Linked DNA regions of Homo sapiens: all the other regions are linked to region 1. The links are contacts of gene promoters, found by promoter capture Hi-C in blood cells and fetal thymus (Javierre and others, 2016). All regions are on one chromosome and are shown on one strand. The core of a region is centred on a gene start or on the middle of the fragment in contact, and the rest is flanking DNA. Distances in the headings are between cores, read along the strand shown.

Region 1 (4,095 bases), core at 1,085-3,584:
ATAGTTGGAAAGAGATGCTGGGGATCAAAAAAGAAGCCTCCCTGCTGCACCCCCATGCCCTCTCTCCTGGTCATGGCTTATCTCTTCTTGTCTGTGCCTGACCCAGTTCGTCCCATTCCGAGACTATGTTGACCGGTCGGGGAACCAGGTGTTGAGCATGGCCCGACTGGCCAAGGATGTGCTGGCCGAGATCCCGGAGCAGCTGCTGTCCTATATGCGCACCAGAGACATCCAGCCTCGGCCCCCACCCCCTGCCAACCCCAGCCCGATCCCAGCTCCAGAGCAGCCCTGAGGATTCCACATATCCAATGCCTCACAGTCTGCAAGCCTGCTCACCCACTGCTTCTGCTTTAAGCCAGAGGCACCTGGAACCCTGGACTTCACTGGGAGGGCCAACTTGGAGGATCAGTGCTGGCTGACAAGCCCTCCGCCTCCTTGCCTGCAGAGGGCCTGGCACTATCACCACCTCTCTGCCTTCATGCCAATAATAAAGCTGATCTTTATTCCACCTCTGTCTCATGCATGTTGGCGAAGGAAGACTATGGGACCCAACGACTGGGGCCACATCAAGAGGGAGGGAACCAGGATGGCTTCAGTTAGATTCATCCCCATCCTAACACGTTCATCCAATCACTTCTTCATACATTCTTCAAAGACCTTAATAAGTGAAACTTTGTATGTTTTTCCTCAGGAGAGAGGCCCATAGTTGTTTTTTTTCTTTTTTCCATAAAATCCGAATCCTACACACGACCCATAGTTCTCAGCAGATTCTCAAACGAATTCCTGACCACTAAAGGAGATAACTTAGTATAACTCTGCTTTGATCCATCTATTCTGAATTATTTTAATAAGGATAATAACAGCTAATATTTTCTTTGAACATTCACTACATGTCAAACCGTGTGCTAGGTGATTTACAAGCATCATCTCATTTAATTCTCACAACAACTCTGAGAACAGGTACTATATATTATTCCCACTTTACCCATAAGGAAACTGAGGCTCTGAGAAGATGAGTCATTTAAGATAATTCATCAGTTTGACTTCAGATCCCAAGATCTTAATCAGCAAACCTCTTCCTGGCATGTCGATTTTATTGGGATGGTTTTTAGAAAACATACATTTTATTGGGTCAAATGCAAAGTTTGCATTAAGAAGATAGAAGCTTTCAGATGCTTTGGGCTTTGTCCCAGAACCCTGGAAGACCTTTCACGCTCCTCTTTGATGACAAAACTGGAGAAGTATTGTTTAAGGATGTCTCCCCCTGCCATGCAAGTTCTCTGAAACCCTCAAGAACTAACAACAGAGTTTTCGAGCTCTGTTTTACAAATAAGGAACTTAAAGAACTGAACTTGCCCACGTTCACATTGCTAGGAGGTGACCCACTCACATTAAATCAGCTGTTTTGGCACCATGTTCCAATCAGCAACCCGCAGCACATCCCTGCCAACCCACAGATTTCCCACCGCTTTACCAGACAAGCCCTTTCACACCCACCGGCCCCAAACCAGCCCCTTCTCTCAGACCCATACCTTTTCTCTAGCACCTCTCCTTTACTTTTCCCAAGTTTCTTCCCTTTCCTTCAGTCACGCCCCGTTATCCCTAATCGGTCCTGCCCTTTCCCCACAGCTCCGCCCCTGCCTTACCAAGCCCCGCCTGCTCCCTTCAGCGTCGCATCGCTTTTTCCAACTTTGTTCTTTATTTCTAGTCCAGCTCCACTTTCCAGGCTCATCCAAAGCTCCGCCCTTTCTCTCGCGAGTACTCTTCTTCTGTTTAGCCCCACTTTTTACCCCGCTATTCTAACAGGCCCCCGCTGTGCGGTAGCCCCGCCCCCTCCCACAAGCCCCGCCCCACAGACCGGTCTAGTCTCCAGCCCCGCCCCGGTCCTACCCATAACTACCGGTCCCTTAGGCTCCAGCCCGCATCCCTCTTGCTCCCGGCCCTGCCCCCAGCCCCGCCCCGTGACTCTGGCCCCGCCTCACCGCCTTCCTCCGAGACCAAGGCCAGGTCCCTCCCGCAGCCGCGGCGCCAGCAGGAGGCAGGGAGCGGATAGGGAGGAGGCAGAGGGGGAGGGGAGAAGGGCGGGCTCCTCACGCCCAGCCCCGCGCTCACCGTCCGTGGTTGCAGATTCGCCACAAACCGCCCGACGACCCCAGATCCCGAGTACGGTGACTTCAGTCTCCAGAAACTCCACTCTAAGATGGGAGAGCTAGAGAAGCCCTGTGGGGTGTCCAGGGTCCTTTCTGAATCCCGGAGCACGGTCTTTCGAGCCTCAGCGGGCGGGCGGGGATCCGTGGCGAAAGTGCAGCTCAGTAGCGCCGCGGCGCCACGTTTACCCTGCGCAGACGCCGTCGCCGCCGCTGCTGCCGCCGCCGCTGCCACAGCCTTTGCCGCCACGGTCTCCGCCGCCGCTGTCCTCGCGCTGCCTCTGGGAGCCTCCATTGTTCCAGCAGCGCCCGGTCCCGAGACCGGGCATCTTGGGGGCTCGCGAAACGGGCGGCGGCCGACGGAGTTGAGACCCCAGGGCGCCGGCGGGACCAGGAGCGGCAGGGGTCAGCTCAGGAATCCCGGGGAGCCGGGACCAAAGCGTGGGGCGGCAGGGGGCCGGGGTGGCGAGGTCTACGGTCTCCGGAGTTGGGGCTCCCCCTTCCCGGCCCGACTTTCCCCGCCGACCTCCCCAAGTGGGGTCGGAGCCCCGGCGGGCGCCCCCGGCGATGAGCCCGGACTCGAGGTGGCCGGTGAGTGCGGGCCTGGGACCAGGGCGGGAGTGGCCGGCAGGGAAGGGGTAGGCTACGTTCGTGGGACGCGCACTGAGCCGCGTGGCCCGGGAACCTCTCTGGCAACTCCAGTTGGGAGAACTGACAGTGCATTGCTTCCCAGCAGGCATCCTGGGGCAACAGTGTATCTTTCGGGGCTGCCCGGGCTAGTGGCAGGCGGGGAGCCTTGTTTCACTTGTTACACTTCCACAAAGGGGAAACGCCGCCGCATCCGGAGAGTGGGCTGCGGGCACTGCCGGGGCCCAGCCCTATCCCTCCGGCCCCCGCCCCTTACTTCCTCCAGCCCCCTGAGCTTCAGGGGCAGATGCAGCCGCCATTCTCCTTGGGCCCTCCCCACGGGCTTTCTGGTCTAAGTTCTCGTCTCCCTCGCCTGTGCCTCTGCTGCCGGGTTCCAAGGGGAGATTGCTGATTCGCTGTGCTACTTTGGGAACCATTCACCCGGGACCCAGCTTGGAAAGAGGAGAGCTTGTTTGTGCTTCGGTTGGTTTATGTTTAAAGACACAGCCGCAGGTAGGAAATAGAAGAGTTGCAGTTGGACGTGTAGCGTTACTGATGTGAAAATCAGGAGCCGTTGACAGTGGAGCTGGAGCAGCCCACTTGCCTGGTTAAGGCACAGGTGGAGAGGCCAAGAGGGGTTATTTTGTCAGGGAGCTCATGATAGCCCTGCCTGGCTGGGATGGTGCCAAGCCCCTAGCTGAATGGTTGAACTCAACTAGGCCGAGAGAAATTGGGGCAGTCTCTGACCAAGCTGGGCTTCCTGAGGCCTGGTGCCATCTGCTGTCTACACTCACCCAGGAATGTTGGGGAGCGGGGAGGGAGGGCCCCTGCGGACCAGCATGGAGCTGAGCATGCCTAGATTGTCGCGTTCGTGTTTGTACCCTTAGGGCCTGGCACTTGGTAGTCACTCAGTTGATGTGTGAGTGGGTGAACAGCTCAAATGTAATACAAGCTGCTGTCACTGACTAAATGACCTCAGTTTTCACTTTGTTTCACAGTACATCTCCTACCCAGTACCAGGGCCAGGCTCCCCATAAAGACCTCAAAAGTAAATGAATTCTTTCTGTGATCCAGTGATTTCTGCAGGAGTCCAACGCTAAAGCATTAGCCACCCACCCATTCAGCTTTCTACATGGCCTTCATCCCATCTGAGCTCTCAGTCTGGTGATCCCCTCATTCAGCTATTCGTTCAACAGGTCATTCATTCGTTCGCCAAAAACTGAATGTCCAGTGCATGCTAGGTACTGGGGATACAGAGGTGGATAGGCTCTGGTACCCTTGCTACACAGCTCCCAGTCCAGGGGGGAGACAACTTTCAGTA
Region 2 (4,095 bases), core at 975-3,474, 780 kb before region 1:
CATTTAACAAGCACTTTTGTGGCAGGCACTAAGAACAATATATATAAAGGAAGGTTCTTGACCTCAAGGAGCTAATAAAATAGTGAAGCAATTACAGCATAATTCCGCATAATATATCCTAACAATTTAAGCAGGAAATGGGCACAAACTAAATTCACCACACTCAAGGCAGTGTAAATGTTCTCCCAGTCAAAGACAAAGCAGATGTGACTAACAGAATGGTACCTTACTAATTACCTAAGCTAATTTACTAGTAGCCCAAATTCAGCTGGATTCTGTTTAGTTGAGGAGGAGACAGTACAATTTCAGTACACTGTATAAATTCAGGATTCGTTTAGTTGAGGAGGAGACAGCATAATTTCAATGGTATGGATATCCAGGAAATAAGCAAGTCTTGCCAGCCTAAGTAAGAGCACCCCAGGAGGAAAAACAAAGAAACATATTATGAAAAGGATAAAACAGACAACAGGTTGAGTTCTTTTAGGAAGCAAAGATGAATACAGGGGACCGATTCAGCATGTAAGGGGCTTGGAAGTCACCACTCTGTCCTAACAAGTAAAAAGCTGAACAAACTGAAAAACCAACAACTTTTCGTAGATCCAGCAGAAAAGCAGGGTCACAGGGCAAACTGCTCTCCCCGAACTGGAGAGAGAGAGGGGGGTAATACAGACAATCACAACTTACTGGAACAGAAACCCACAAACAGAAACCTCCATGGGAACCAGAGGAGAAACCTGTGCTGGAACCAGTGCTGGGGTGGGAGAACCTGAGCTGTAATTGACGAATTGCTGGCGGCTCAGTGTGGGCAAGTCTGAGAGTCAAAAACTCCAGGGAACCCTGTCATTGCAGGCATGGAGAGGATGTCCTCACACTTCTGTGAGTTTTAGTTCCAGGAGTTCTTCAAAGTTCTCACAGTGAATATTGGAGAAAAACCCCCCAGTCCTTCCAGGAGTAGGAGGGTAAAAGTAACCATTTCTAAATAAGCCAGAGTAGTCTGTTTTTTTTGTTTTGTTTTGTTTTTTCCCCTTCAAGATGGAGTCTAATTCTGTCACCCAGGCTGGAGTACAGTGGCGCAATCTCGGCTCAATGCAACCTCCGCCTCCTGGGTTCAAGTGATTCTCCCGCCTCAGCCTCCCGAGTAGCTGGGATTACAGGTGTGCGCCACCACACCACACCCAGCTAATTTTTGTATTTTTAGTAGAGATGGGGTTTCGCCATATTGGCCAGGCTGGTCTCAAACTCCTGACCATAGGTGACCGCCCACCTCGGCCTCCCAGAGGGCTGGGATTACAGGTCTGAGCCACTGCACTGGCCCAGAGTAGTCTGTTCTCAACAAAGCCCTCCCTCAGAAGAAACTATTTTACAGAGCCTAATCTACTGGAGTTTTATCAGAGCCCAGCTGACTCTGGAAAAAGGAAATACACAACTCTAGCCCTCTAGCCATCCTGTCCCATCTAAGGAGGGGAAAACTGAGGAGCGTTAGTAACATTCACAGTCCAGGGGCAAAGTTCGCTAAAAGACCTAATCATAGGACTATAGAATGTGTCCCCTCTGCCCATACCTAAAGGCCTATTTACTGCAGTTCCTTTTACCCAGGACATCATTTCCAGTTATTAACAAAAAAACCACAAGGAAAAACACACAGTTTGAAGAAACTGAGCAAGCATCAGAACCAAAGTCAGATATACCAGAAATGTTGAAATTATCGGACCAGCAATTTTTAAAAATTATATGCTAAGGGCTCTAATGGAAAAAGTAGACAACATGCAAGAACAGATGGGAACATAAGCAGAGAGGTGGAAATTCTAAGGAAGAATCAAAAAGGAATGCTAGCGATAAAAAGAACCGCTATAACAGAATGCCTTTGATAGGTTCATTAATAGATTGAACACGGCTGAGGAATCTCTGAGCTTTAGGACATGTCAATGGAAACCTCCAAAACTGAAAAGCAAAGAGAAAAAAAGACAGGAAAAATGGAATAGAATAACCAAGAACTGCAGGATGACTACAAAAGATGTAACATACACATAATGGGAATACCAGAAAGGGAAGAATGAAAGGAGCAGAAGAAATAATAATGGCTAAGAATTTCTCCAAATTAATGTTAAACACTAAACTACTTATCCTGGAAGATCGGAGAACACTAACCAGGATAAATGCAAAAACAAAACAAATAGACACCTCAGCCAATCATATTGAAACTACATAAAATCAAAGATAACGAAAAAATATTGAAAGAAGCTGTAGTGGGGGCCTTACCTACAGAGAAGCAAAGAATGACACCTGACTTCTCACAAACCACAGAGAGTGCACCGAAATATTTAGTGTTGAGAGAAAATCATCACCAACCTAAAACTATATCCTGAGAAATTATCCCTCAAAAGTGAAAGAGAAATAAGGACTTTCTCAGACAAACACAAATTGAAGGAATCTGTTTTCAGTAGACTTCCCTTGCAAGAAATGCTAAAAGAAATTCTTCAGAGAGGAGGAAAATAATTTAGGTCAGAAACTCCAATCTACGTAAAGAAAGGAAGAGTACTGGAGAAGGAATATGTGAAACTGTAATAAAAACTTTTTCTTGTTAATTTAACAGATAACACTTTGTACAAAAATAATAACGAAGTATTCAATTATAGATGCTTATTATGTATATGCGTATAAAAATGCACGCTTATGAATGCTTATGCATAAGTGAAATGAATGACAGCAATGGTACAAAAGACTACAGGAAAGCATTTCTTAGCTTGAGCTGCCATAACAAAATACCACAGACTGGGCAGGTTAAACAACAGAAATTGTTTTCTCATGGTTCTGGAGGCTAAAAGTCCAAGATCAAGGTGCCAATATGGTAAGTTTATGCTGAAAGCTCTCTTTCTGGCCTATAGACAACCACCTGCTCACTGCGTCCTCCCATGAGGGGGTGAGGAGTGACCATAAGCTCCGGTATCTCTTCTCATACGGACACTAATCCCATCACTAGGGCTCCACTGTCAGGACCTAATTTAAACCTAATTATCTCCCAAAGGCCTCATCTTCAAACACCAACACATTGGGGTTGGGGCTTCGACATAGGACTTTAGGGGGGATAAAATTCACTCCAGGCATTCCACCTTTAACCTCCCAAATTCATGTTCTTCTCAAATGCAAAATACATCCATCCCATCTCAACAGCCCCAAAAGTCTTAACTTATTCCAGTACCAACTCTAAAGTCTAAAATCTAAAGTCTCATCTAAATATCACCTAAATCAGATATGGATGAGACTCAAGGTATGAATCATCCTGAGGCAAAAATTCCTGTCCAGACTCATTCTCTTAATTATCAATGCTGTTCTCTTTATACTATAAGAAGTCTCCTGAGCAATACTGTAAGTCAAGAAATCCTAAAACCTAGCTGCTCAGCTCAGTCACCTAGGGAGATTTATGCTGGTTTTAACTTAGTTTCCCAGGCTGTATCCCCAGTCATAGTGATTCAATGGATTTTGGTCAGTAAATCACATTCTTAATATGTAATATTGATTCAACAATGGCAACAATTTTTAAAAAATTAATAAGTTGTCACTATTAAGTTGAATTATATGAAACTGACATTTTTGGTTAAGTCAAAAATGGACAAATATTGGCAATTTCATGTGGTTCAAATAAACACTGCACTTAGTATGTGCTCTGTTCTAAGCACTTTACATGTATTAACTCTTTCGATCCTCACAGCAACCCTGAGGTTGGTACCAATGTTAGTCACATTTGACAAGAAGAAAAATGAAGCACAGGGCTCAGCCAACTTGCCAAAGATAATGGAACTAATATGTGGCAAAGGAAAGCACCAGAGTCCAGACTCTTAATATATTAATTATTAAAAATTACAGATGCTCCTTGACTTAACATGGGATTACATCCCGATAAACCCATCATAAATTGAAAATATCATAAGCCAAAATGTATTTAATATACCTATCTCTAGCCTGGGAAAAGATCAAAATTCAAAATTCAAAGTATGGTTTCTACTGAATGTGTATCGCTTTCACACCATCGTAAAGTTGAAAAATCCTAAGTCAAATCATGGTAAGTCAGGGACTGACTATATCTATAAACATTTG
Region 3 (4,095 bases), core at 1,076-3,575, 560 kb after region 1:
GGACTCCTGAGGCCCAGAGAGGTTAAACGGACGGGCAGCAGTCACGGACAATAAACCTGTCAGCAAACGCACACGGAGAGTAGAGAGAGCTTACCTGCAGTTCCTGGCGGAGGTGGTGCCTGGTGGCTGTCAGGTCCTTATATAGGATGACTGGCGTTTGTTCTAAACCAGCAACCCCATCCCAGAGGTGGCCTAGCTTCCGTGGGGCTGATGTACATTCCTTGGGAACTAAAAATGTTCTTGTCCTCTGGGTAGAAGTCAACAGTGGAGGTCAGATGCCCTGCGGAATTGCTGGGTTGGCGAGGGAAGAAGCATGTGCTCCAGCTGTCCCTGGAACACGGTGGCGGGGTGCCCCAAGTGGGCATGGCCCTGGTGGAGGAGGGAGGGAGGAGAGTGGCTCTGGGGTCTGGGTGCAGCTTTGTTGCTGTGTGACCTTAGCTTACTCGCCCTTTCTCCCTGGGTAAAATGAGGCTGTCATCACTAGGAGAGCTCTGAGACCTCCCCAGTCCAGCGCCCCGTTGTTTCCCATGTGCTGTTGCTGCTCTGGCCTCTGTGAGCCCCGGGAGTCCGCAGGGAGCCAGGCTGGTGATTCTACACCTTCCCGAGGAGGAGTCCCACCTCCCGGTTGAGCAGACTGCTCCTGATCATCCTCTCCAGAGAGTGGGTGTGGGGATAACTTCAGCCAGTGGCTATGCTTCAGTCATTTCTGCCAGGTGTGACATGACTGCCTGGCCTGGCGTTTTTTCACATAGCAGCTTGCCTTGCCTCCCTCCAGCAGCTTTGGTCCCTATTTTAGCGGATGCCTCTTCTGAGAGGGAAGTGCATTGGACCTGGAGGTGGAAGATCTACGCTTAGCACGGGCCTGGCTCCTCTCTCATTGACTGGCCTTACGCCGACCACAAATAATTCCCCTTACCCAGAGTCTTTGAGGGTGAAATGAGGCGATGGGGGGAAAGTGGCTTCTAACCTGTGAAACACCCTGCAGATGACAATGGTTTCATACCAGGCCCATAGGACTTCCCAGCATAGGCCAAGGCCACTGCCTCATTTCCCTCGGCCCCAGGAATTTCTTCCTTTCTGGAGTGCTTCATCCAACTGGGTGCCCAGGCAGGAACCCCTAAGGGCCAATGAGTTGTCTGCAGAGAAGTTCTAGCAGTTCAGGAGAGGAGCTCACCTTAGGCTGGGGCTTGCGGCAGGGATGTTAGCAAAGGCTCCAGGAAAGAGGCCTGTGGTGAACTCGGGGCAGGGCTTTGGAGGGAGGGCTTTGCGGCAAGCAGAGGGGAGGTGAAGGCGTGGGTAGAGTACATCAGGGCAGCATGGAGAAGGCTGGGTGGCTTGGGGGAGGGTGGCGATGGGGTCATAACAAAAACATAAGAAGGTGGTTTGGGGCCAGGTGATGGATGCCTTGGGAACTGCTAGCCCAAGAAGTTTGGGCTTTTTTTGCAGGAGGGCAGCCACTGAGGATTCTTGAGGAGAGAGAGACCATAGAATGAATGAAAGAGTTGGAAAGACTTTAAAGCTCTGGGAGGCTGAATCCTTTATTTCGCTGGAAGAAAAACTGAATGCCAAGAGGGCCTCACTTTCCCCAAAGCTATACAGCCATCAGGGGCAATGCTGGGATTCCCCCATGGATCTCTTGACTCCTAATACAGTGCTCTTTCTGATATGCCATCTGGCTCCATAATGAACATTGTGTTCCAGGAAAATCAGTCTGCGCTGAACAGGATGGAATTGGGGCAGGACGTCCAGTGAGGAGGACATTGAGGCAGTAGAGCAGTTGATTGCCGAATGACCACCTACCCTGACTTAAAAGATCAACCTCAGGGAGGATTGGAGCTTTCTAGAGTCTCTTGGGACAGCAGAAGCACAGGCCGGGTTGGACTGAATCTTTAAGTGGACATGAGGGACAAAGTACCTCCTGTTGGTAAACATCTCACCACCAACCCACTGTGGTGGCTAAAATCCCACCTTTAGTCCCAGCAACATATGAGCATGTCACCAGGAGGTCTTCACAGGCCTGTCTGCCACCTGAGTGTAGACATCTTTTGGCCCTGGAGCCCAGAGAGGCTGAATGTGGAGAGGGTGGAGAGAGGTCTGTAGTCCTCAGAGAAGACTTGCAGCTTTTTCAGAGCCACCAACCCATAAAAAAAAAAATCCCCAAACAGAAAAATCCTAACTGTGGTGACCAGGTACCTCCTGAGACATGAAGCCTCCACTTACCTGGACCCTGGAGGCCTCTCCGGGCACAGCTGCCAATGTTGATCTTAGATAAGACCACCAGCAAGTAAACATCCACTGTGCAAAGCTGTGTTATCTTTGGGGAACTGAAATGTCCCCTGGGAGTTGGAAACTCCCCTAGCCACATACCACAGAGTTGAGGAAGGAAGAGCTGATGGACGGAAGAACCATGGCGGGAGGAGTCATCCGGAAGCTACCTCGCTGCCCTGTCAGTTACGGAACAGAGGAGAGATGCCGGCTGGAGGACACAGCAAATTTGAACCAAGAGGAGCTTGGAGGAAGCCCGAGCGACCTGGAGGGGACTGGCTGACCTTCCTCATTCTTTTCAAGTGTGAATAATAACCAAGCCCAGTTTGGCAACTCCTTGAGGGTGAGGACGAAGCCCCATTCTCCTTTTTGGAACTTGGTGGGGCTCAGGAAGCAGGTTCTCTCCAGTCGGTGGCTTTCCTTTCTGTTGCGGGTCTCTTGAGGGCCTGCCTTCATGAAGGCACATGAGTGACTCATCATTTGTGAATTAATTGCTATATGTGAAGGGCATCTGAGAACAAATTATCTTCATAGACTTTTCATTATAATTTTATTTGTACTGATAATTAGTTGGTTTAGCAAGCTCTTTTTTCATAGATTTGGCTAAACTTCAGTCTGAAAGAGGCAAATTCTGGGGTTCTAGAAAGAGATTTTATTCTTTGATATAGGGCTATTTGGTGGGGTTGCTTTTTGTCCTAGTTGTAGCTTTTATAATTTCGAGATTCACATTTTGCAATAGAAATATACAGGCATACCTTGGAGGCATTACAGCTTTGGTCCCAGACCACAATGAAGCAAGTCACACGAATTTTGTTGGTTTCCCAGTAAATATAAAACGTATGCTGATACCATACTATAGTCTAAGTGTGCAACAGCATATGTCTAAATGAATATACATATATATTTTTTTGAGACAGGTTCTTGCTCTGTCACCCAGGCTGGAGTGCAGTGGCACTATCATGGCTCACTGCAGCCTCCACCTCCCTGGACTAAGATGATCCTCCCACCTCAGGCTCCCAAGTAGCTGGGACTACAGGTCACACCACCACACCCAGTTAATTTTTGTATTTTTTGTAGAGACAGAGTCTTGACATGTTGCCTAGGCTGGTCTTGAACTCCTGGCTTAAGTGATCTGCCTGACTTTGCCTCCCAAAGTGCTGGGATTACAGATGTGTAGTCTTTGAAATCCAGTGTGTGTTCTTACAGTGCATTTCAATTTGGACTAGCCATGTTTCAAATGCTCAGCAGCCACATGCGGCTCATTCTAGATAGGCGGCCATCGCTCTTAAATCCTCCCTGACCTTAGCCATGCTCTCTCATCCCTCCTCTTCGCCAAGCTCTGCCTCTCTCACTGGGGCTTCCCTAGCCTCCGGCCATCTTGGGGCCAAAGCTCTAACACTTTGCCTCTCTCGTGTCTTCTGTTCCCCTCCAGTGGCTTCTGCTTTCTGCCTTAAAATACACCCAGGTTCCTAATCCTGAAAACGTCTGTTGTGCACCGATCCCACCCTCCCCTCGTGTTACCATCTCCATTTCCTTCCCCTTTCCTTGTGTCCTCTTCTTTGCTGTGTCCTGGCCCCTCAAAACTTGACCTTGCCTCTCATCCCCACTGCTGTACTGAAACTGTTGTCTCAGCGTTGCTGATCATCCAGCCTTTTAGTCTATGGACCGCTAAGAGCCATAGGACGACCTCAGGGTGGGACGTGGCTTGGAGGGCCATCTCGTCTCAATTTCCAGATACAGACCTGTGTTGGGTTGTGTTGGATTCATGAGGAAAGCTTCATAAGTTTTATGCACGTTTATAAGACTCCATCCTTGGATTCTGATCCAGTA
Region 4 (4,095 bases), core at 745-3,244, 530 kb after region 1:
TTTTTTTTTTTTTTTTTGTTGTTGGGACAGAGTCTTGCTCTGTTGCCCAGGCTGGAGTGCGATGGTGCAATCTTGGCTCACTGCAACCTCCACCTCCTGGGTTCAAGCAATTCTCCTGCCTCAGCCTCCTGAGTAGCTGGGATTACAGGTGTGCGCCACCAAACCGGCTAATTTTTGTATTTTTAGTAGATATGGGATTTCTCCATGTTGGCCAGGCTGGTCTCGAACTCCTGACCTCGTGATCCACCTGCCTTGGCCTCCCAAAGTGCCGGGATTACAGGCATGAGCCACTGTGCCAGGCCACATTCCTCCATCTTACTCGTCTCCACCCATCCTTTACTACTGCTCTGCAGGCAGCTTCTCTCATCTTTAGCTCTTTCTTCTAGTACTTACCCCATGTTTCTAAATAATCTTTACTGTTGATCAGTTTTTCAGTTTTAGATGTCTGAGGACTTCTTGCTTGGGCGATGAGAATTTAGTTCTCTATACCTCCTTCAGAAGCACCCACACCCAGGGACACATTAGCTTCCCCTTTCTGCAGCCTCCCTGTGTGGCTTGAATACCTTTTGGGTTAAGTCTGTGTAAGATTTGTTACTGCCATGTTCACAGCTGAGTCGCCTTGTATACTCTGATCACATTTTCTTTCTTGTAAAACTTCATTTTCCTTAAAGTTCATCATTACTTTGTTTTTCCTTTGGTTTTCCTGGTACCTTTCACTAATTAATCCCCAAACTGCGAGAGCTGTAAAATCCTTCTCAATACTGTCAAAATAAGGAATCTGTTTCTTTTTTTTCTCTCTTGGAGGTATACGTCCTCAGCCCTCTGTTGTCCTGCTCTGGTCTGGACTGCCTGCCGTCAGGCCAGCTGGCAGCTGTCTCTCTGGAGCCTCCTTCACATTTCTCCCGGATTGAGTCTTCTGCTACCTATACTCTGTGTCTTCTCATGTTCTTCTTCCTTGGTTTACTCTCACATTTTGGTGGAATACTTTTTCTAGTAGCTTCTTGAGAAAGGGTACATGGAGAAACTTTTTTTGGTAAACATGTGTCTGAGATTGCCTTTATTTTACCTTTAACCTTGATTACAAGCTTGGTTGGTTTTGGAATTCCAGGTTGGAAATTGTTTTGTTTGGGATTTTGAAGGCATTGCTCCTTTTCTTCTGGGCTTTTTTTTTTTTTTTTTTTTTTTTGAGGTGGAGTCTCGTTCTGTCTTGCCCAGGCTGGAGTGCACTGGTGTGATCTTGGCTCACTGCAGCCTCCACTTCCTGGGTTCAAGTGATTCTCCTGTCTCAGCCTCCCGAGTAGCTGGGATTACAGGCACACGCCACCACACCTGGCTAATTTTGTATTTTTGGTAGAGACAGAGTTTCATCATGTTGGCCAGGCTGGTCTCAAACTTCTGACCTGAGGTGATCCACCTGCCTAGGCTTCCCAAAGTACTGAGATTACAGGTGTAAGCCACTTCGCCTGGCCTCTTCTGGTTTTCTTGATGTCTGAAGCTATGCTGGTTCCTGAACCTTGGTATATGATTTTTTATTTTTTATTTTCTTTTGCTTTGAGACAGAGTTTTGCTCTGTCACCCAGGTTGGAGTCCAGTGGCGTGATCTCAGCTCACTGCAATCTTCACCTCCCAGGTTCAAGCGATTCTCCTGCCTCAGCCTTGTGAGTAGCTGGGATTACAGGCATGTGCCACCACACCCGGCTAATTTTTGTATTTTTAGTAGAGATGGGGTTTCACCATTTTGGTGAGGCTGGTGTCGAACTCCTGACCTCATGATCCGCCCGGCTCAGCCTCCCAAAGTGCTGGGATTACAGGTGTGAGCCACCGTGCCCAACCTGTATTTTTTTTTTTTTTCCCTCTGTGGAATCTTGTAGAATATATTTTGATCTCAGGGCTCTGAAATTTCATGGTGGTGGTGTCTACTTTGCTTAGCATGGGACATTCCCTTTCAATCTAGAAACCCTTGTACTTTAGCTGTGGGAAAAGTTCGTGAATTACTGTACTTCGCTGATGTTTTCTTTCCGTATTTTTCTTCTCTCTTTCTCTCTCTAGCTTCTCTACCTTCTTTCTCTTATTTGGATGTTGGATTTTTCAGGACTGGTCCTGTAATTTTATTGCCTTTCTCCCTTGTTTCTAGCCAATTTCTTGCTTTACTTTGTAGGATATTTCCTTTTCTTTATCTTCCAACCCAGCTGTTTATTTAGTTTTACTTTTCTACTGTCATGCTTTTTATTATCCAAGAGCTCTTTTGTTTTTTAATAACATCTCTGTTCTTGTTTCATCTTCTGTTATCTCTTTTAGGGAGTTCATGGTAGTTTTTTGGCTTGGTTTTAGTTTTCTTTAAGTTGCTTCTTTCCGTTTCTTTTGATCTCTTCTGTGTTAGAGGCTGCCTTCACATGTCTGGTAATCTTTGGTTGTCTGTTTATGATCAAGAATGGGAGGATTAAAAAGCTGTTTGGAAGCTCTGAGCGTAAAGACTTTGAGCTTTGCTTTGGGATGATCGGGAGAATATAACCCTCTTCCCCTTGCCATGTCACTGCTTTTAGGAAAGCCTCGAGACTGGTCACCTTGCCCAGAGGAGTGTTTTTCAGCCTGCTTAGGAGGAAAGGTGGCTGGGAGCTGGGTAGCGAAAGGGGCGGCTGCGGGGGCGGCGTCAGCATTCACTTAATCTTTGTCTTTTTGGTGCAGTACCAGTGCCCTCCACTGAGCTGACCAGGCCTTATTCTAGAGATCCTCTTGTTTTACTGTCTTCAAACAACTCACCTTCTCTGAGTATGAGGAGGGAATCTGGGATCTAACTCATTGGAAACCAGATTTCACCCTGTCCTCCTCCTTTTAATGTTCTTCTGTAACTCCAGTTCCTCCAGTTCCCAAGGTGCCCAGTACCGCGAGTGCCTGCTCTGTTCTAAGCTTTCCTGGTGCCTAGCTTAGGTCTCAGCCTTCTCTTGGTCTGCCAGTGAGGTGTTATTTGGCCATCTGCTTTCTAGCCTCCAGTGCGTGATCACTGTAGTCTCTTGTTCTTCCTGTTCTGGTGTTTTTGTTATTGTAGAGGGGTTTTATTTGTTTTTTGTTTGGTTTTTAGATTCTTTAGTTTTAGTGAGGTTTCAGGAAAGAGTAAAATAAGTCGAATTTGTTCAGTACATCCTTAGCCTAGAAAAGTTCTGGGAAAATTTCTTGATTATTTGATTTCTTGTCTGTTTCTTCTTTTTCTGGACCATCTATTTTATGCTTGGTCTTTCGGATGGAAATTCCAATTTTCTTTTCTTCCCAGTGAATCCTTTTTAAAAAATTTTTCTGGATGGTTTCTTCAACTTTATCTTCTTTTTTTTTTTTTGAGATAGAGTCTCACTCTGCCACCCAGGCTGGAGTGCAATGGCTTGGTCTTGGTTCACTGCAACCCCTGCCTCCCAGGTTCAAGCGATTCTCCCGCCTCAGACCCCTGAATTGCTGGGACTATAGGCGCATGCCACCATGCCTGTCTAATTTTTGTATTTTTAGAAGGGACGGGGTTTCATTTTGGCCAGGCTGGTCTCGAACTCCTGACCTCAGGTGATCTATCCGCCTCGGCCTCCCAAAGTGCTGGGATTACAGGCGTGAGCCACCGCGCCTGGCTCAAGTTTATCTTCTAACGTTTATGTTGATTTTTTTTTTTTGGTCTTTTTTTTTTTTTTCCTGTGCGTGGTTTTTTTTTTTTTTTATTGCTGCCAATTTTTTTTTCTTTTTTGTCTTTTTGAGACAGAGTCTCACTCTGTGGCCCAGGCTGAAATACAGTGGTGTGATCTCAGCTCACTGCCACCTCTGCCTCCTGGGTTCAAGCAATTCTCCTGTTTCAGCCTCCTGAGCAGCTGGGATTACAGGCATGGACCACCATGCCTGGCTAATTTTTGTATGTTTAGCAGAGACAGGATTTCACCATGCTGGTCAGGCTGGTCTTGAACTCCTGACCTCAGGTGATCCACCTGCCTCGGCCTCCCAAAGTGCTAGGATTACAGGCATGAGCTACCACGCCCGGCCAGAACTTTAAAAATTAAAAATTTTAGCTGGGCGTGGGGCTCATGCCTGTAATCCCAGCACTTTGGGAGGCTGAGGCAGGTGGAT

Evidence for each region. The method cuts DNA at HindIII sites, captures the fragments that hold promoters and counts their contacts. A CHiCAGO score of 5 or more calls a contact.
Region 2: a contact is called between a fragment that was not itself captured here and the fragment with the promoter of BRPF1 in region 1, in 1 of 17 cell types (neutrophils). The highest score is 5.0, in neutrophils.
Region 3: the fragment with the promoter of GHRL here is called in contact with the fragment with the promoter of BRPF1 in region 1 in 6 of 17 cell types (monocytes, naive CD4 T cells, total CD8 T cells and 3 more); the score reaches 7.2 in monocytes.
Region 4: a fragment that was not itself captured here is called in contact with the fragment with the promoter of BRPF1 in region 1 in 9 of 17 cell types (monocytes, total CD8 T cells, naive CD4 T cells and 6 more); the score reaches 10.1 in monocytes.

The regions. Positions count from the first base shown.
Region 1 is chr3:9,729,401-9,733,495 of GRCh38, forward strand. BRPF1 (bromodomain and PHD finger containing 1) reads left to right here and starts at 2,335. Exons shown (of 14, transcript NM_001003694.2): 1 at 2,335-2,738. It overlaps CPNE9 (copine family member 9), which reads left to right. Exons shown (of 21, transcript NM_153635.3): 21 at 107-508. The coding sequence ends at 292. RefSeq lists enhancers at 1,771-2,330, 2,891-3,450 and silencers at 1,794-2,153, 2,624-2,673, 2,684-2,813. The HindIII fragment of the contact is 5,381 bases long and covers 1,164-4,095 here.
Region 2 is chr3:8,949,020-8,953,114 of GRCh38, forward strand. All of the region lies in intron 2 of RAD18 (RAD18 E3 ubiquitin protein ligase), which reads right to left. Among named protein-coding and RNA genes, the nearest start is that of RAD18, 12 kb to the right of the region's middle. The HindIII fragment of the contact is 5,111 bases long and covers 1-4,095 here.
Region 3 is chr3:10,290,622-10,294,716 of GRCh38, forward strand. It overlaps GHRL (ghrelin and obestatin prepropeptide), which reads right to left and starts at 2,326. Exons shown (of 6, transcript NM_016362.5): 1 at 2,221-2,326; 2 at 95-830. GHRLOS (ghrelin opposite strand/antisense RNA) reads left to right here. Exons shown (of 6, transcript NR_073568.1): 6 at 1,447-2,828. RefSeq lists enhancers at 1-572, 2,084-2,153, 2,164-2,413, 2,224-2,518. The HindIII fragment of the contact is 7,186 bases long and covers 1-4,038 here.
Region 4 is chr3:10,261,366-10,265,460 of GRCh38, forward strand. All of the region lies in intron 3 of TATDN2 (TatD DNase domain containing 2), which reads left to right. Among named protein-coding and RNA genes, the nearest start is that of TATDN2, 15 kb to the left of the region's middle. RefSeq lists a silencer at 2,570-2,759. The HindIII fragment of the contact is 1,822 bases long and covers 1,084-2,905 here.